Regions from separate parts of the Homo sapiens genome. Here all the other regions are linked to region 4. The links are contacts of gene promoters, found by promoter capture Hi-C in blood cells and fetal thymus (Javierre and others, 2016). All regions are on one chromosome and are shown on one strand. Each heading gives the region's core, a stretch centred on a gene start or on the middle of the fragment in contact. The rest is flanking DNA. Distances are from core to core; before and after follow the strand shown. Region 1 overlaps LOC105376360 (a long non-coding RNA gene). Region 2 overlaps LOC105376360 (a long non-coding RNA gene). Region 3 overlaps LOC105376356 (a long non-coding RNA gene). Region 4 holds the start of KLF6 (KLF transcription factor 6). Region 5 overlaps LOC105376360 (a long non-coding RNA gene). Region 6 overlaps LINC00702 (long intergenic non-protein coding RNA 702). Region 7 has its middle 31 kb from the start of LINC00702.

Region 1 (2,700 bases), core at 96-2,595, 450 kb before region 4:
GCCACACATAAAATATGCAAACATTAACAATAGTTGATAACGCTAAAAAAAATTGCAAAGAATCTTATAATATTTTAAGAAAGTGTACCAATTTTTGCTGGTACACTTTCAAAACCATCCTGGCTTATATACAGCCCACAGGCTGCGGGTTGGACACACTTGGCTTAGAGCTTTTTGGCTAAAAACATACACACACATTTTTAAAAGATTGATTTTATGGTACCATTTTAAAAAAATTTCTGAGAGAACTACATACACATCTTTCCTTTGCGTCTTTCTGCTGAAGTGTTCAGGTGTGAGCCCACAAAAGTGCTGCTTTGAGGCCCCAGGTCTTCCAGGGTAGCCTTGAAGACAGGACACCTGCCCACATCTCCTGCTGTACAGGAGGCCATGGCATTCCCCAGTCCTCCACCTGTGGCTGGGTTTCCCAAATGTGGCTGTGGCTTTTCTTTCCTTTTGGGTCTTTGCTCATTCTACTTTTCTGATATACTTTCCAAGTTCAACCAAACTCAGGACTTAATTATCCAACACATGCAAAAATCCACCTCCTAACTGAGGTTGAGTTGAAATGTGAGTACTTTTGAAACCAGCTGAGCGGCATATTTCTAACAACGACTCTTGTAATTCACTTCATAGTCGAATATTTTTTCTGTAACTTTTTTTTTTGGCGGGGGTGGGGCGGCGGGTGGGGGTGGAGGGTGGCAAGCACAGAGTCTCTGTCACTCAGCATGGAGTCCAGGCTGGAGTGCAGTGGTGCGATCTCAGCTCACTGCAACCTCCGCCTACTGGGTTCAAGCAATTCTCCTGCCTCAGCCCCCCAAGGAGCTGGGATTACAAGCGCCCACCACCACACCCAGCTAATTTTTTGTCTTTTTAGTAGAGATGGGGTTTCACCAAGTGTTGGTCAGGCTGGTCTTGAACTCCTGACCTCAGGTGATCCACCCACCTTGGCCTCCCAAAGTGCTGGGATTAGAGGCATGAGCCACCTCATCTGACCTTTTTCTGTACACTTTTAAAGATGATCGAAACATTTAAAATAATTGTGTCTAATGGACAGATATAACAATGGGTTTTAATAATATTTTAGTTGAATGGGACAAATTTGTACTGAGTGTTTAAATATCTGTAAAAATGTGTAAATATTTAGAAATATTGATGTTTAATATTGAAAGAATATTAATTGTTTGACAGATTATAAGATGAATGAATTGAGCATTAAAAAATGTATCACCAATAGTGCTGGTCTCTCGGCTGTATCTGATAATTTCAGTTAACAAATAAGGCAAATGCATAGAAAATTGTTGTGGATTTGTCAGAAGATGGAAAGTGGCAGGTAGCTGAGTCTGAATTGGACCCAGCCTCACATGCAAGTGTTGGTATGACAGGTTTCTGAAACCATTTACTGTGGAAAGTTGTTGTGTCAGGGAGATTGACAAATGTTCTATAAGATAGAGTGTAGGGGTCAAGTTAGTTTGGAAATGCTGACTGCTACATCATCTCTTAGGGACACACAAGGCAATTTGGCATATTAAAGATTGTGAGAAGTCCTGTCTGAGCACTGGCCAATAGAAACACAAGGTAAATCACAAGTACCACTAAAATCTCCTCATAACGACACTGATAAAAGTAAAAAGGGAACAGATAAAATCAATTTTAATGGTGTATTTAACCCAGTGCATTCAAAATCTTATCACTTTACTATGTAACCAGTAGGAACACATCAATGAGGCATTTTTGACTCCTTTTTTCACATCAAGACTAAGAAATCCAGTGTCCGTTTTTGCATTTAATGAGCATCTTTTTTTAAAGCAATTTTTTTGTAGAGATGAGCTTTCAGTCTGTTGCTCAGGCTGGCCTTGGCCACCCAAAGAGCTGAGATTACAGGTATGAGCCACTGACCCTGGCCTTATGAGCATCTTAATCCGAACCCGTATGATTCACAAGACACCCTGGCTCAGTGGCTGTGTGTGGCCAGGGTTACGTGTGGGGTGGGACAAGTTTTCTTGAAGAGCTCTGTTCAACACCATTAACCTCCACCATGTCACAGATGCATCTGACTTTAGAAAGCTCCCCCATTCCCAGCACAAATGCATTTTTGATTTGGAACACCTGGTGACACCTCATCTCACCAGACCTGACGATACACGGAGCCCATTTTCGGGAAGGTCACTGCGTGTCAGGGATATGTGTGAAGTGGACACTGCTCTTCCAGTCTGCCTGCTGCCTTCCTGTGTAGCCCTTTTGCTCTTTAAACAATAGCTACTTTGCTAAGAAACTCGGTGCTGTCCAGCCGCCTCCAGGCATCCCGAGGGTCTGGAAATGAGGTCCCTGCTCACCCCAGTTCCTGGCTGTGTGATCACTGTCTACAACAAGATGAATGTCTCGCTGTTCTCATGCTATTTAGTATTTTATTTATTTTTCTCAGACAGAAATGAGTAAGCCCATAAGAGGATGTGCTCACCAGGAAGCGAGGAAGCCACATGCACAGCACACGGAGCTGCTGCTTCCCTAGCTGGGAGGCCTGGTGCAGGGTCTTGCCATAGCCAAGGGCTCTGGGCGGAGGAAGGTGGAGAGATACCACGCTCAGCTCCCTGTGCAGTTCGCAATTCACGAGACACCCTAAACACAACGGTCTCCGGTCTAAATGGAATTAACTCAGTCTCACTCACAAACATCAGGGAGGGAGCCACTTCACAAACA
Region 2 (2,700 bases), core at 151-2,650, 390 kb before region 4:
CAAGATAATCATTTAATGAGCTAAAATTATCTTAGAGAAATTCTAGTCAGCTTTTCATATTGCAATTTGCTAGGAAGCCAAGTTTCTCAAGGGGAATAGGAACTGCAAATCACTTGTTTAAAAAAAAATTCTCCTGTGACACACACATCTGTGTACAAACACACACAACCACACACACACACACACACACACACACACACACAGCTGACCTCTTGAAAGACAGTCACTGATGGGAAACTGTTTTAACCCTCTGGAGTGCTGGTCCCTGGGAAAGTCTGGCAGTGACAGTTTTGGGAAACTCTTTGGCCGAGAAACCCACACTTTTATATCACAAAACATCGCACTGCTTAATTTTAGCCTTGTGGTACAAAGAAAATATCTCTGCAAGATTTTCAGAGACAGGCGGCTTGGTAACCATCTCCACTCCAATAATTAGCAAACACCCTCTGCTACCCTGGAGGTGCAATCTAACCAACACCCCAGCACCATGATCACCATCCGGCCAGGGGTCCTGGCAGCCAGTGTGGGGATTTGCAGTACTTACAGAAATGCTATAAAATCTCCAAACGTCTTCACTGTTGCCTTTTGCTCTGTAGTGCAACTTTTCTGCATTGTAGTTATTGTATGGCTTTGTATTTCTTGTTTTTTACACTCAGGACTTTAGAGTTAAGTATTTGTACACCAGGTAGGGCTATCACCTTTATCTCATTGTACATGCAATATTATAACACACAATTTTGGTGCTTTTAACACTATTTCTTTTTTTCATTTTTATTAAAGAATGTTTATTTGAATTATATACTTTTAAAAAATGAATAGTATTCACATACAGCATTAGATACACCCAGTGCCCATTTGTAGTTTGTCCAAGCTCCATCATAATAAACCACCAATGATGAACTCCAGTAGCAATGGGGCAAAAACCCCCTTCCAGGGATGGGCGCTTTACCTGGCTGGGTGCCTGACTGTAGGCTGGGCCTGCGTGTCTGGGAGTCCCAGGGCGGCTGGGTATTTGAGCAAAGCTCCTGGGGTTTGTCCTTCCCTCTGTACATTTTCTTACCATTGCACAAGCAGTGGGCACTGCCCCTCCCTGTCCATTGTCCTCCACATCAGCTCGGACCTCTGGGCTTCCATCTGGTAGACCCCTCGCTTGCTCAGGGCATCCATTCAGGGTCCGGTCCCCATTCACCCTTCATACCTCCACTCAGGACATGCACTTTTGTCTTCCTTTCTAGCCCTCAACAATCCAACTTTAATGGCCCATGAGAACCAGAGCTGACCCCATCAGAAACTTCCCAACAACTCACGCATCAGAAACTTCCCAACAACTCAAAAGGGTTTGTGTTCCCCAGAAGGCAGACAATGCTCGACCCACCGGCATGCCAGAAATGGAAGGGCAGAGCTGGGAGCCGAGGACGACGGGGATGTGGGGATGGAGGAATGGGGGCAGGGCTTCCTTCTCAGAATTGGTTGACCACCCCTGAAGGAATGGGAGAAGGAACAAGCCAGACATTGCTGGTACACTGTCACGTGCATAGCACCTGAAATGAGCTTTCAAAGTCAGACTTTGCCCTAGTCACTGAGAGCAGCTGCAAGTGTGGGGAGACGCTGACCATAGGCACAGGTGATGGGCGTGACAGGTGATCTATCAAGTAGCCGAAGGGGTATCTGGGTGAGAAAGGTGGCTTTCTGAGGACAGGTTCCCTATCTGGTACTACCCAGATATTCTCCAATGAGACTTCTGTGCTCCTCCGAGCAGTGAGACTGGCACGTGAAGAGATCTCTGAGAGACATGAAGTGAATGAGTGACAGGCTGTATCACAGGGTCAGGTGATCCTGGTTTCAGTACAGCTTTCTTACCTCTCAGATGTGTAACATCAGATGAGTTGCCTAACTTCTTAAAACCTCATTTTCCTCATTTTTAAGATGGAATTAACAACAGCGTCCACTGTGTTCATGGTAATGTGTCCATAAATGTTAGAAGGGAGGAAAGGAGGAAGGAAGGAAGGAAGGAAGGAAGGAAGGAAGGAAGGAAGGAAGGAAGGAAGGAAAGAAAGAAAGAAAAAATTTTAAAAAAGGAAAGAAAAGGAAAGAAAAAGGAGAGGGTAGGGGAGGAGGGGAGGGAAGGGAAGGGAAAGGAGAAAGGAAAGGAGAGGATAAAAGGAAAGAAGAGTAGAGAAGAGGTTCATTTGTGGCCTCCATTTTGGGCCACCCTCAGCTAGCAGTGAGCATCCCTGGGTTAAATGCAATAGGTTAAAGACACAGTTCTCTCCAGTCTGTGTCATCAGAAGAATATTTTACAAGCAACCTTGTAAGCATTCAAAGGGAAAGCTGGGCTCAATATTTCCTCCACCTAATGCAGAAACAATGAAAGCTGATGTTTATAAAGTGGGAAGATCGTAAGCACTAAATATTGCTCATTAGTTTATAGAAATAGTAGCATGGATAATAACAAATGATTTAGAAAGGCTGTTCAGTGATTCTTATTTACCCTGCCCAATAATATATGAACAAAAGGTAGGTGATAAAATTAGAAGACATCCCATTTAGAACAGATAAAAGACAACACTGCCTTGTTTACTCACCATGTAATTATCTTGTAAAAGTCTTCACTACAGGATATTATTGTGACAAATAGTTTCAGCTAAGGATTAGGCATTTATAATAAGAGGAGCAACATGTGTAGTTCAAACCCTATCA
Region 3 (2,700 bases), core at 61-2,560, 480 kb before region 4:
CTGGAGTGCAGTGGCGCAATCTTGGCTCACTGCAACATCTGACTCCCTGGTTCAAGCTATTCTCCTGCCTCAGCCTCCCAAGTAGCTGGGACTACAGGCATGCACCACCACGCCCAGCTAACTTTTTGTATTTTTAATAGAGATGGGGTTTCACCATGTTGGCCAGGATGGTCTTGATCTCTTGACCTCATGATCCACCCACCTCAGCCTCCCAAAGTGCTGGGATTACAGGCATGAGCCACCATGCCTGGCCGTGAGTTCTTAATTTTGGTTATTGTATCTTGTTCTAGAATTTCCATTTGGTTCTTTCTTTATAGTTTCCAGTTCCTTAACGCTTTAAAAAAAGTTTATTAAGTATGTAAATCATATCTGATAACACCATCTAAATCCCTCTCTGTTTCCATTGTCCATTGTTTTACATTTTTTTCTTCTATGTGCTCTATTGTTTTTGATTGAGTGCTAGACATTGTATATGAAAAAACTTTACGTCTAATTAAATGCATAAGATGTTATTACCTTTCTTCAAAGAGAATGCACATTGCTTTCGGCAGTGGCCAGGAGCAGTAGAATTCCTGCAACAACGTAGTCCATTTATGGAACTCATAGGATTTTAAACTGAACTTGGGCTCCTGTGAATGCTGACGTCTTTCTGGCTTATCTTTATTTCCAGGGTTTAGTCTTTTAGGGTTCTTCCTGTTGGCAGACCTAGACTCTGATATTTGCTCTCCTTCCCTAATAAGGTTGCCAAAAGCTTCACTCAGCTTGTAAGCTTCTCAGTCCCCCTTTTGAGAATCAGAGGAACTCCTTGGAGGAAAATGTACTCAAATGTCAGGTTTATAAGTATGGATTTTACATTCTTCTGGATTGTATCTTCATTGCCTTGTTATTCTCCAGTGATTTCAAACACATTAAATATATTTTATTCTCTGTATTCAGTTGTCTGGGTGAGAGACTTGGCAAACATCACCTAATTGTATGAGTTTGCTAAGGCTGCCATAACAAAAACCCATCAGTTAGGCAGCTTAAACAACAGACATTTATTTGATCACAGCTCTGGAGGCTGGAAGTCCAAGATGAAGGTGTTGACAGTTTTGACTTCTTCTGAGGCCCCTCTCCGTGGCCTGTACAGGTCACCTTCTCACTGTTCTCACAGCACCATCTTTTTGCATGTGCTCTGGTGTCTCTGAATGTCCACATTTGACACTAGTCAAACTGGATTAGGGCCCACACCATCAGCCTTATTTTAACTTAATTACCTCTTTAAAGACCCTATCTCTAAATACACTCACATTTGGAGATAGTGGGGGTTACATCTTCAACATATAAATGTTGAGAAGACACAATTTAGCCTACAATACTAGCCTACCATTAATGGGGAGAAGTCCCTTACTTGAAATGCAAAGGAGGTATTGTGTCACCCTCATTGATTTAATTCCATTTTCACAAAACGACTTCTGTGTGTGTGTTTGTGTGTGTGTGTATAGTGCAAGAAGAGAAAAGTATTGCAATTCCTGTGACTATAACTTCTCAGGGTTTCTGTACTCATAAACATTCCTTCTATGTAAGCACATTTTAGTCAAATTTTTGGCAAGATTGACAAATTTGCATAGAGAAAATGAATTCCATCAAGGCAATTTAATTCATTTCTAAACTTTGTGTACCATTTTAGAAAACATGTTTTTATGAAATTATTCTATTTGATTTTTTCCATTTAAATATTTGTCAAAAGTTGAATTCATTGATTCACTTTTTGCCCATATCGAGTTTTACTGATTAGAGCTTCTGCATCATGGATGCTCTGTGCAACCATAATTTTTGAAGAGGCAGCCCTATTTTCCTTCAGGTAACCTGGGAAGCTTTAAAATTGTTTTGAAATTTGATTCTTCTGCTTGTTTTTAGCCAACAGCAAACTTTACCATGTTCAATTTTTATTATTGTCAGTTTTCTTTTTATTTCCTTCAACGATTTAATAGAAGCCTTTGAATAACTAAAGGGAAGACAGAGAGTTTTTATTAACTTCTTAAATAATCCAGGAAAAGTATTGAACAATTTTATGAGACAGAGTACTGAGAAAGAAAGAAAAATACAGAGAAAATGAGAAAAGAGATGGAGGAAGACTGGGGAAGAGAGAGAAAAGGGAGTGAGGTGACAATATTGAGTCTAAACTGTTAGGTAAAAAGCCGTCCTTCAACTGAAACCAGTTCCAAATAACCTTTCTGTATGTCATGAACATATGCATTTAAATAGCTTTGTGGTCGTAAGTAAAGAGACCCTCCACCAATCTTAACTAACTTTGAGATCCTGCTAATCTCTCTGTAGTAGCAGCAGTTTCAGATGACATGCTATGATGGTTTTTTTTTTTTTACTGGAAAAATCAGATATACTTCATTCTTACTTTTTCAATCTTGAATTAGCTACACTGAAATGTGTAGAAATGGGGGTATCTCCATGTTTCCCAAGATCCCCCCCTCTCTGGATGCAAATTCACCGGCTCCTAGACTCACACTTTCGCCTACAGACTTGAGTCCCTTCAAAGGATGCTACAGGCATGTCTGGATTGCGTAGCATGGGCCCAAACCCAGTTCTGCCAGCCTTCTGGACAGTTGCTTTTTGTCATCTGTTGCTTCTCTGCTGTGTTTAGCTGGCTCTATTCTTCACAGGACTCCTCCTTCCCACCAGGCATATCTCCCTCGCTTGGGA
Region 4 (2,700 bases), core at 77-2,576:
TCAATCACGTCCTAGGGAGCAGCTTCTTTGAGGAGGAAAAAAACAGGAGGGGGAGGGGGAAAAGGCAGGAGAGGACTGTGAACAATTAAGCAGGCGTGTGAAGGTTGCAACACCCTGCATTTCATCTTCCTTAAAGCTTTCGAGGCTTGGAAACCCACAGCCTCTATTTGATCTGGCAATTCACTTTGTGACGAAAAACAAACAGCACAGCAGGGCAGGGAGACAACAGTAAACCCTCCTGCGATCGCTGGAGAGACAATGGGAGGAGTGTCAGTCTCTCTCCCCTCGGGCGATGCTACCTATAAGCACGGGGACCTGGTAAGTTTCTTAAATTTCCAATGCCCCCAAATTCCAGTTCTACGACAATGTCGGAAACCGAGGTCCTTCTTTCCAAACTAAGACTTGAAGCAGTTTGGACGGGCTCATTGTCACAAGACTGACAAGTCACTGGGGTGTACACAGTTTTATTTTTATTTTTCTTGGTCAACAAGAGAAGCAGGGAAGACAAATAAGGCAGATCTAGGGGAAATGTTAGGCATTCCAAAGAGCAGAAAACACATTGGAAATGGTCTACAGTTTAAAAAAGACAAAAATAAAAGAGAGCTGGTCTACGTTCTGGGGGCAAAATGTGATTTTTTTAAAAAACTGTTAAGTACAAGCACCAAGAAACAAAACAAAAACAAAATCCGTTAAAAAAAAACAACAAAAAACAAACAAACAAAAAAAAAACACCTTGGCAGGCAGAGCAAGTTGGTCCCCATGACAAGCTCCAGCTGTGGCGTCTGGAGCGGGGACAGGCTCCGAACTCGTGCCAGGGGCTCGGCCGGGCTGTGCCGGGAGTTGGGGCTTCCCTGGGCGGACGCTGATCGCAGCCTGGAGGATCGATCGGCGGGGGCGCTGCGCCCGCTCCCCCGGTGACAGCGCGGGGCCCAGGCCCAGCGGACCGCAGAGAGCACCGGGTCTGAACCCCAAACAGCCGACCCGGCCCGCGCCCCGGCGCCCGCAGGGAACCGCGGCCGGCTGCGTTTACCTGTTGCCAGTACTCCTCCAGAGACGGCAGCGCCGAGAAGTAGCCGGTCTCGTGCACGATCTGGAGCTCCTGGAAGATGCTGCACATGGGGAGCACGTCCATGTCGGGCCGGGTTGGACGGAGCCCGCGGTCGCGAGGGCGGCGAGGCGCGCGGTGGGAGCCGGAGCCGAAAGTCTCCCCGGAGCGCAGGTGAAAGTTTCATGCAAACTCCAGGCTCGCAGAGACGCCCGGCCGGACCCTCCCGCAGCCCGCAGCGCGCGGAGCCCACACAATATTTGCAAACACCGGACTGACTGCAAACGTAACCCCTGCAAAACTTCCCTATTCAAAGCTCCGCTGCCAGCCTCCCCCTCCGCCCCCGCCTGGCTCCCCCCACTCCCCCTCCCCCCACGTGACTCGCCCCGCGCCCGCCCCGTGCGCGGCCCAATCCCGTGGCTCCCGGCCCGGGGGCTGCGCGCCGATGATGTCAGCTCCGGCCAATCGCAGGCGGCGACACACAGCGGCCCCGCCTGGCGTGACCGAGACTCTCCATCACGGCCCGCACCATTGGCTCAATTCGAACTCTGCTCGTTCTGATTGGAAAGTGGCCTCGCAGGCTATTTTTAGCAGGGTATATAAGGCGCGGGCGGCCGCGCGCCGGAGGAGTCCGCGCTGTGAGGTGCGCGGCCGAGCCCTGCACTGCGCCCGCGGCCGGAGCTAAGGGAGCCGGGGCTGGGAGAGCCGGGGCGGGCCGCGTCGCCTGTCCCCAGTCCCGGTCTCTCTTCCCCGCTGCCCGGTCCCGCCACCCCACGCCCGTCCCGGTCACCAAGCCGGGCCCTGTCGCCGCGCGAGCCCCGGTTCCGGCAGCTCACCCTGCGGGCGGCCGTCCGGTCCCGGGGCCGCCCGGTTCCCCCCCGTCCCCTTCTATGCCCGAGGCCGCCCCGTCCCCAACTGTCCCCTTCTACGCCGGGGGCTTCCCGGTCGCCAACTGTCCCCTTCTATGCCCGGGGCCGCCCCGTCCCCAACTGTCCTCTTCTGCGCCGCTCTGTTTCCCTACATCCCCCTAGTCATCCTCTGTTCTCTAACCTTGGGGTACCCCTCTCTGTCCTCCTCCACCTCCGGGTCCCTCTCTGTCCCCCTCCATCCCTGAGCCCGTCTCCGTCCCCCTCCAGTCCTAGGGTCCCCTCTGTCCTCCGGGCCACCAGAGTGGGGGAGGGGAGCACGCAGGCTCCCCTTGGAATTGGGAGAAACGTGTTTATCTTGTAGAGGGCGATCTTAGCCCTCACCAAGGTTAACAGCTAGGTTTTCCCATGAACGTGTAAACAATTTAGGTGCAAGCCGACATTTAGTGTGTGTGTTTTTTTCCATATAAATTATCTCCTAAAATATACCGTAATGTTCATTTTTAAGAAAAATGTCGAGACTCGAACCAGAGCATTTTAAAATCCAAAATGGAAAACTGAATTGTAACTGTATTATAGTTTTTGTTTCAAAATAGTTTAATGAACATTAAACATTTTGAAAGAATGGACTATGTAAAAAAAAATTAGAGGGTTTTGTATGTTAAGTTTTAGAGGGTCCGGCAGAAGCATGTGGCTGTAAGACTAGGTGGGGACCTTAGTGAGTCTGGAGTGGAGAAAGGAGGTTTGTCTTGTACCTGCGGTATGTGGGCGGTGAAGGTTATGCAGAGT
Region 5 (2,700 bases), core at 89-2,588, 420 kb before region 4:
ATTGATATGCCATTGCTCTACAAAATTCAAGTCAGTGAAAGAGTTAGTTAACTCCAATGGTATCCCTTTTCCCTAATACATACCTTATTAGAACAAGCCTTTCTAGAGGCATACAGAGGAAATATTCCAATCAGAGCATAGGAAATAGGCATTTAACTCTCATTAAAGGAGAGTGTTGCTCTGAATCTGTCAGTGGAGAGATTTATTCCATGAGGAACAAAGTATTTTATCCACTAAGTACACTCAAGGCCCTCAACTGACAGCTTTCCTCCCTTTATTTTTTAACTGTGTTTGTTTGGAGAGGCTGATGTACACTCTCACAAGATTGAAGAGCCCACACACTCTTCCTCTGTGACAGTGGGGACCCTCTGACTAATTCCTCACCTCTGTTCCTGTGAAATCTGAGTCAGGACTGACAGCTACCATGGAAACCTGTGGGTATTGAACACTTAATGTCCTAGTTCATAAAGTGAAGGTAATTTGAATTCAATGTCTTTGTCTTCTCCAACTCTCATACCTTTCTCTCCAGTAGATGATAAACCTTCCTTTTTCTCCCCCTCCCAGAGCCACTGGTGAGGTTATCGGTGCTGTTTGGGTTTACCTGACCACCACCATCTGTCCCTGCAGCAGAGGAGATCTTGGAGCCTGCCCTACCATAAGCCAATGCTAGTTAAACATTATGAACTTTGAAGATATGATATCTCTATTAATAATCTAAACTAATTTTTAGTCAAGGAATAGAAAAACATGGAGAAGAAAACTAATGCTTTGCAATGAACACTATGAGGAGGACAAGAAAAAAGAATAAAAAGATCAACAAAGTAAATGAGAACAAAAGGGATCTAATCCCAAATTAAAAACCCCCTGTGTACCCCATGCTGACAGCCTCTCTCTCAAACTGCCAGGATAACCAGGACGCCCTAACCCTGAAGCCAACGTGGATTTGCTTGACATGGTTTTTGTTTTTGTTTACTGTCTTCCCCATGTGTCATGCCCGCTTAGTGGCTGGGCACATGAGGCCTCACCCCACTGGACTCTGGAGAGGGTTTGTAGGACACAGAGAGGCTTCCCTTTCCCCCAGGGACACAGCGTCACAGCAGACAGGCCATGGCTCCAACTTAACCTCCCATTCCTCCCAAGCTCTGACAGTGAACTATGTTGAGCTCAACAGCCACATTTACCAAGGGTAAGATTCTCAGGCCTCTCCTGGACCAGCTGTCCCAGAATCTGCATTGCAACAAGGCCCTGGTCATGGATACACTCATCAGAGTTTGAGAAACACTCTCAGATTCAGCGGTACTGAAAACTTTGTGGTCTCGGGATCTCTCTACGCTCTGAAAAAATGTGGCTTTCCAGAGCTATTGCTATGTGCTTACATTTATCTCTATTTGCCAAATTTAAATTTTAAACTGTGAACATTTTAAGATATTTGTTTATTACTTTATTTACAAATAAGAACAATGACCCAACTACATGTTAATATAAATATTTTTATGAAAAGTCATTATAATCTCCAACAAAATTAGAGATAAGAATGGCATTATTTTACATTTTTGCAAATTGTTCATGTCTGGCTTAATGCAAGACAGCTGGGTCTTCTCTGCTTTCACATTCAATACACTGCACTAGTGTACATCACATAACCTCTGGAATACTCCACTGTACATTCAAGAGAGAATGAGAGTGAAGGCAGGAAAGTCTTGGAATAATACTATGAAGAGTCATGTGTTGTGACTATAATAGTATTTTGTAACAATAATCCTAAACAATGATTTGTTTAGCATTAAACAAGTAGTTTTGACCTAGCAGTCCTCCTGAACAAGGGCTCACTCCGCAGAACCTTTGCTCCTATCCAAGCCCCACCTTCATTAGCTGGGTGGTCTTTTTAAGCAAGTGATGGCATCTCTGCTTTTCCTTACTTGAGGCGGTAGACAAAACCCCAGATTCCACTTGTCCTGAGATTCACCTCTGTTCTAGGTACTTTTTTTTTTGAGATGGTGTTTACGCTCCTGTTGCTCAGGCTGGAGTGCAATGGCACAATCACGGCTTACTGCAACCTCCGCTTCCCGGGTTTAAGCGATTCTCCTGTCTCAGCCTCCTGAGTAGCTAGGATTACAGGCGCATGCCACCACGCCCGGCTAATTTTTGTATTTTTAGTAGAGGCGGGGTTTCATCATATTGGTCAGGCTGGTCTCAAACCCCTGACCTCAGGTGATCCGCCCACCTTGGCCTCCCAAAGTGCTGGGATTACAGGTGTGAACCACCGTGCCCAGTCTATGTGCTAGGTACTTTTATGAATCTATACTTTACTGTGGGAGAAGAAAGGAAAAACAGAGACCCAGCAAATAACATGCCCTTGTCCAACAAACAGAACGCCGGAATTCAAGTGGAGATCTTTGGAACTCCAGTCCTCCCTCCAGAGGTGAAAGTGTTATTTGTGAATTGTAAGTTGATCAAGTGCTGTAAACTAACTAAAGTTACAAACTAACTGAAGTGCTAGAAACTAAAATAAATACAATAATGAAGAACAAGCATCATTATTCATAGTGTCTTTAATATTTCCATAGGCTACTTGGTTTGAAAAAGCAGCCTCCTCTGTGAGCCACTGAGCAGGAGGAAAAGCCAGCCCTGGAAGGACTCTGCAGAGAACAGATCACAGTGTTTAATTTGCCAGAGGCATGCGAGCTTCTCAGAGTCCTA
Region 6 (2,700 bases), core at 130-2,629, 440 kb after region 4:
GTCCTGAAAACAAGACGAGAAATAAGTCTCTGAAATTAAGGAGTCCAAATTCTGGTCATTAGAAGGGTTGTGTAAAACCAGTGATTGCATTGCAATGACATGAATGATATGACATAGCAGGGAGCATGGCTAATCCTATTGTCTACTTGATCGGGACATGTGGTGCCCAGATTAAACATTACTTCTAGGAGCGTCTGTGAGGGTGTTTCTAGATGAGATTAACATTTGAACTGGTGGATTTAGTAAAGTGGATTCGGATTACCCTCCACAAAGTGAGTGGGCATCATCCAATTCCTCAAGGACTTGAATAAAACAAAAGGTTAAGGGAGAAAGAATTCTACCCTGCCCCCTTCCTTTTTCTGCCCCAGCATTTGGCTGGAACAAAGGTTTTCTCCTGCCCTCGCACTGCAGTCACACCACCTGCTTTCCTGGGTCTCCAGCTCCAATTTTCCATAATAAATACATACATATAGATATAGATATCTATATATCTGTATCTAGCTAGTATCTATAAATATCTCTATCTATATAGATATATAGATAGATATAAATTGATAACTATATAGATATATTGATAACTATATAGATATAAATTGATAACTATCTATATAGATAGATACATATATAGGAAATATATGGGATATATGTCTATATCCCCCATTGCTTCTGATTCTCTGGACACCCCTGATTAAGACAGCAGGTAAACAAAAGCATTTAAACAAAAGAAAAGCCAGAAAGAAGGAAACTTGCTGGTGGGCTACTGAAATAATGTTACTGCCAGAAAGGAAGTAGAGAGGATGTCTAGCAAGATGAACATGCTGTGCAGGTCTGGAATATGAGGAAGTTAAAAGTGGGTCAGTCTTACAGGAATATCAAATTGATACAAAAATGTCAAAACTCAGGTATGGGTGGATGGTCAGGATTAGAGACCTTACTCAAAAGATAATTGACGCGAGAAGCATACATATTCTTCTCAAGTGAGAAACAGAGAAAGAAAAAAAAATGAGATAAGAGATAGATGAGAGGATCTAATACATTTCAAAGAAGCAAAAGAGAGTGAATAAATGGATAAATAACTCTAGATAAGCATTGACTATGAAATGCAATAATAATAGCAATGAATAAGCTGACGTACTTTAAAGGAAGGAGAATTAAAATGTATGAATAAAATGACATGCAAAACGAGATTGAAATGATTAATATAAAAATAAAGAATTGCAAAATGCTGGGCAGTGAAAAATGCACGTTTGTGCTTTCTTGGTGGAGACCCTGTGCAGGCATGGCATCGACAGGCTGGTGTCTCCTCCTCACACACTGGAAGTGGCCTGGGCATATTTGGTTATAAACTGTATTGGTCTGTTTTCACGCTGCTAATAAAGACATATCTGAGACTGGGTAATTTATAAAGAAAAGAGGTTTAATGGACTCACAGTTCCACATGGCTGGGGAGGTCTCACAATCATGGTGGAAGGCCAAGGAGAAGCAAAGTCATATCTTACATAGCAGCAGGCAAGAGAGCTTGTGCAGGGAAACTCCCCTTTATAAAACCACAAATCTCATGAGACTTATTCATTGTCATGAGAACAGCATGGGAAAGATCTGCCCCATGACTCAATTACTTCCACCTGGTCTCTCTTGACATGTGGGGATTATGGGGGTTATAATTCGAAATGAGATTTGGTGGCTACACAGCCAAACTATATCAAAACATACTCTTCCTTCAACTGTAGAAATTTTACTTTATTTTTTAAGTGCATAATTGAAAGTAAATCGGGGTGGTTAAGTGGGCAAAGAACTCTTTTCAAAGGTCTAGCTCAAGGATAGCTTTCAGGGGCAACAATCTGTGTTGTGTTTCTTAACCACAGATTCCTTTTGTCAGCCCCCTGAGATATCCTACAACTTCTTTGATATCAGTTGATGAGGAGAAATAGACATAAATCCATCATGACCAATGAAGAAAAATTCAAGCCCTGGGATGGTGGATTCACAGCTTCACATATGAAGAATATCATATGTAAAACCTAAATAAAAGGAAGGTTTTTATTTTTATTTAGTTAAAATACAGCTTTTTTTTGTCAAAGCTGGCAAAAATAAGCACATTGATGCAAATATATTTTCTAGGTATTACTTATCTGTAGAATTGAAAATCTAGTCATAAGTTTAAAAATATACTTCAACAGGGATTGGACAAGTTCAGAAAACTCAAAAGGAATGAAATTTTATCAGCTGTTCTCAGAAAAGACTTTTCTTCTCCCAGAAAATAGTAAGTTGCTTCTGTTCTTATAAATGAGCCTCTGTAAAGCAAACATTATTTATTTATTATAACATATTGAGACTGTCTGCCTTTTTATGCAATTATGTCTTTGTTTTTATTCAAATTTCAGAGAGTATTAAGAACATTTTATGCATTATGTATGAATCAAATATCAATTGATCAAATATACATTTGAAGAAAATATATTTAATTTGTGCTTAAAATGCATAAAAATATTCACTTTATTCTGCCCCATTTTTTCTAATAGGTATATTATTCCCTACGGAAAATAGGATTTGTTAAAAAAAAAAACCCATATGGTAACAACTTTCCCAGAACATATAATTATGGTAAACTGAATATTTTTAAAAGTAGTCTACAATTTCATGAGGGCAAAAAGCATGTCTAATCACCCATCTAGTCTCAACATCTAGTGCCAGGTTGTA
Region 7 (2,700 bases), core at 17-2,516, 490 kb after region 4:
CTCCAGCTTAAAGATGGCAGATCATGGGACTTAGCCTCTATAGTCATGTGAGCCAATTCCTTATTCTACTTATACATCTACATATGGAAACATCCTGTGATTTCTGTTTCTCTGGAAAACTCTGACCAACAAAAAAGTCATACAATTTTAATAGCCAAAACCTGCAGACTATGCACTTTTGAAATGTCCAGGACAACTTTAGATGAGAACACAAATATTACCTCATCTTAGTACACAATAGACTTTTAGTCTATAACGAAGCAAGCAAAATTTTAAAAAGTAAAGACTGAATAAGAAGTATAATATCTCTGAGGAATAGCCACACCATCTTCCACAATGGTTGAACTAATTTATGTTCTCACCAAAAGTGTAAAAGCATTCCTATTTCTCCACAACCTCGCCAACATCTGTTGTTTTCTGATTTATTGATGATCGCCATTATGACTGGAGTGAGATGATATCTCACTGTGGTTTTGATTTGAATTTCTCTAATGATCAGTGATGTTGAGTTTTATTTCACATGTTTGTTGGCTACATGAATGTCTTCTTTTGAGAAGTTTCTGTTCATTTCCTTAGCCCAGTTTTAAATGGAGTTGTTTGAATTTTTTTTCGTAAATTTGTTTAAGTTCCTTGTAGATCCTTGACATTAGACCTTTGTCAGATGGACAGATTGTAAAAATTTTATCCCACTCTATTGACCCAGCAATCTCCTTACTGGGTATATACCCAAAGGAATATAAATAATTCTATTACAAAGATACATGCATGAGTATGTTTATTGCAGCACTATTAACAATAGCAAAGACATGGAACCAACCCAAATCCCCATCAGTGATAAACTGGAAAAAGAAAATGTGGTACATATACACCATGGAATACTACACAGCCATGAAAAGGAATGAGACCATGTTTTATGTAGGCACATGGATGGAGCTGGAAGCCATTATCCTCAGCAAACTAATGCAGGAACAGAAAACCAAACACTGCATGTTCTCACTTATAACTGGGAACTGAATGATGAGAATGGATACAGGGAGGAGAACAACATACACTGGGGTCTGTTGGGGGATGGGGGGAGGGAGATCATCAGGATAAACAGCTAATGCATGCTGGGCTCAATACCTAGGTAATGAGTTGATAGGTGCAGCAAACCACCATGGCACATGTTTGCCTACGTAATGAACCTGCACTTCCTGCACATGTACCCGAGAGCTTAAAATTTAAAAAAAATTTAAAAAGTATAACTTGTAGTCATGTATATCTTAAACAACTTTAAAAACTAATGTACTGTGTTCCCCCTTTTCCTTCAAGGAAAACCATTATAATATGATCTTGTCAATAATCAGCATTTTCTAGTTAGGAAACTTGATAACATTATCAAAACTGTTTTTTTGAGAGAATACAATTTTGACAATTTCTACATTGAGTCAAAACTTCTGTGATAATTAGTTTTAAATTGACCTAGGCTACTTTCTTACTGTATTTAGAAAAAAAAACAAAACTGAGATTATATATAACCTACAAAATATCAACATACAATATCTGTTCATTCTTTAAATCTTGGGATATTATTTTATTTTCTATTATCCTGTGAATTGAAAAATTTTACTCACATGACTTTTACCTCTATCAATTGTCTGAAAATTAAAATGATACTGAAATAGTAAGGATTAAGATTCTTAGCCTAATGTTAACAACAGTTCTCACCTTATCCATGGGGGATACATTCCAATACCCCGGGTGTATGCCTGAAACCTCCAATGCTACCAAGCCCCACATACTCCATGTTCTTTCCTATACCTACAAATCTATGACCAAGTTTGATGTACAAATTAGGCAGAGTAAGACATTAACAATGATAACTAATAATAAAATTGAACAATTATAGCAATATATTATAATAAAAGGTTATCTAAATTTGGTCTCTCTTATTTCACTGTATCACCAATAACTAAAACTGTGAAAAGTGAAACTGTGGATAAGGCAGGACTATGGTACTTAATTACTAATTCATATGAAGCAGATATGTTTTAAAGTGTTCAGAGAAGAAGGGTATCTACTTTTGTCCCTGCCTTAAACCTGCCTACCCTGAAAAACACTTTCAATACTGTTCAGCATAAAGGAGATAAGTGAGTAAATGCGGCAGCTCACAGCTGAAGAGGATGCTACAATTTGGGTGCCAGAGGTTGCAGGTGAAAAACAACAGAAGCAATAACAATACTCAATGAATTTTATGGAGCAGTATTGTCCTTAGAGTTGTCTCCCATGCATCCTCATTTTGTCATCATGGTCATCCTGTGAAAAGCCTGCCCTTGTGATCCCCGTTTGATAGGGGAGGAGGCTGCTGCTCAGAGGACTGTGTGACCTGCACATGGCTGTGGCCCTCGCTTGTGGAGTGTGCACTTAGAACGCCAGGCCCACAGCAGTCAGATTCCACGGCTTCTCTCTTTTTCTCTCCCCTGCTCATCCAGGACTCTGCATTAGACCTCACATTAGAAGTGTGCAGTGCACAGTGAGAAGCCTCATGCCCTCTCCCCTGCAAGGAATTATGATGAAAAACTTAGGAAGTAGCATTCTCCATCCCTGCATTTGGGCTCAGAAATGTACTCAACCTAAAAGTGTTTCAACGTTTACTTCTCAACTACATGTATGGCATGGAAACAAAAAGTTCACCTTGAATCCTAAACTAAACTCTAGCCA

What was found. The method cuts DNA at HindIII sites, captures the fragments that hold promoters and counts their contacts. A CHiCAGO score of 5 or more calls a contact.
Region 1: a fragment that was not itself captured here is called in contact with the fragment with the promoter of KLF6 in region 4 in 1 of 17 cell types (neutrophils); the score reaches 5.4 in neutrophils.
Region 2: a fragment that was not itself captured here is called in contact with the fragment with the promoter of KLF6 in region 4 in 1 of 17 cell types (neutrophils); the score reaches 5.9 in neutrophils.
Region 3: a contact is called between a fragment that was not itself captured here and the fragment with the promoter of KLF6 in region 4, in 1 of 17 cell types (neutrophils). The highest score is 5.2, in neutrophils.
Region 5: a fragment that was not itself captured here is called in contact with the fragment with the promoter of KLF6 in region 4 in 1 of 17 cell types (neutrophils); the score reaches 5.7 in neutrophils.
Region 6: a fragment that was not itself captured here is called in contact with the fragment with the promoter of KLF6 in region 4 in 1 of 17 cell types (neutrophils); the score reaches 5.2 in neutrophils.
Region 7: a contact is called between a fragment that was not itself captured here and the fragment with the promoter of KLF6 in region 4, in 1 of 17 cell types (neutrophils). The highest score is 7.0, in neutrophils.

What each region holds. Positions count from the first base shown.
Region 1 is chr10:3,337,360-3,340,059 of GRCh38, forward strand. All of the region lies in intron 1 of LOC105376360 (a long non-coding RNA gene), which reads left to right. Among named protein-coding and RNA genes, the nearest start is that of LINC02668, 81 kb to the left of the region's middle. The HindIII fragment of the contact is 6,556 bases long and covers 1-2,700 here.
Region 2 is chr10:3,389,589-3,392,288 of GRCh38, forward strand. All of the region lies in intron 1 of LOC105376360 (a long non-coding RNA gene), which reads left to right. LOC105376358 (a long non-coding RNA gene) reads right to left here. Exons shown (of 3, transcript XR_930568.3): 3 at 2,113-2,700. Among named protein-coding and RNA genes, the nearest start is that of LINC02669, 110 kb to the right of the region's middle. The HindIII fragment of the contact is 4,211 bases long and covers 1-2,700 here.
Region 3 is chr10:3,302,661-3,305,360 of GRCh38, forward strand. LOC105376356 (a long non-coding RNA gene) reads right to left here. Exons shown (of 3, transcript XR_930566.3): 3 at 2,463-2,700. Among named protein-coding and RNA genes, the nearest start is that of LINC02668, 46 kb to the left of the region's middle. The HindIII fragment of the contact is 1,087 bases long and covers 768-1,854 here.
Region 4 is chr10:3,783,883-3,786,582 of GRCh38, forward strand. It overlaps KLF6 (KLF transcription factor 6), which reads right to left and starts at 1,327. Exons shown (of 4, transcript NM_001300.6): 1 at 1,031-1,327. The coding sequence starts at 1,132. RefSeq lists enhancers at 1-148, 149-705, 706-1,261, silencers at 867-1,466, 1,717-1,996, 2,177-2,236 and a promoter at 1,128-2,065. The HindIII fragment of the contact is 8,520 bases long and covers 135-2,700 here.
Region 5 is chr10:3,362,244-3,364,943 of GRCh38, forward strand. All of the region lies in intron 1 of LOC105376360 (a long non-coding RNA gene), which reads left to right. Among named protein-coding and RNA genes, the nearest start is that of LINC02668, 110 kb to the left of the region's middle. The HindIII fragment of the contact is 5,911 bases long and covers 1-2,700 here.
Region 6 is chr10:4,219,933-4,222,632 of GRCh38, forward strand. All of the region lies in intron 2 of LINC00702 (long intergenic non-protein coding RNA 702), which reads right to left. Among named protein-coding and RNA genes, the nearest start is that of LINC00702, 23 kb to the right of the region's middle. RefSeq lists an enhancer at 1-429. The HindIII fragment of the contact is 3,462 bases long and covers 1-2,700 here.
Region 7 is chr10:4,273,979-4,276,678 of GRCh38, forward strand. No RefSeq gene overlaps it. Among named protein-coding and RNA genes, the nearest start is that of LINC00702, 31 kb to the left of the region's middle. The HindIII fragment of the contact is 4,067 bases long and covers 1-2,700 here.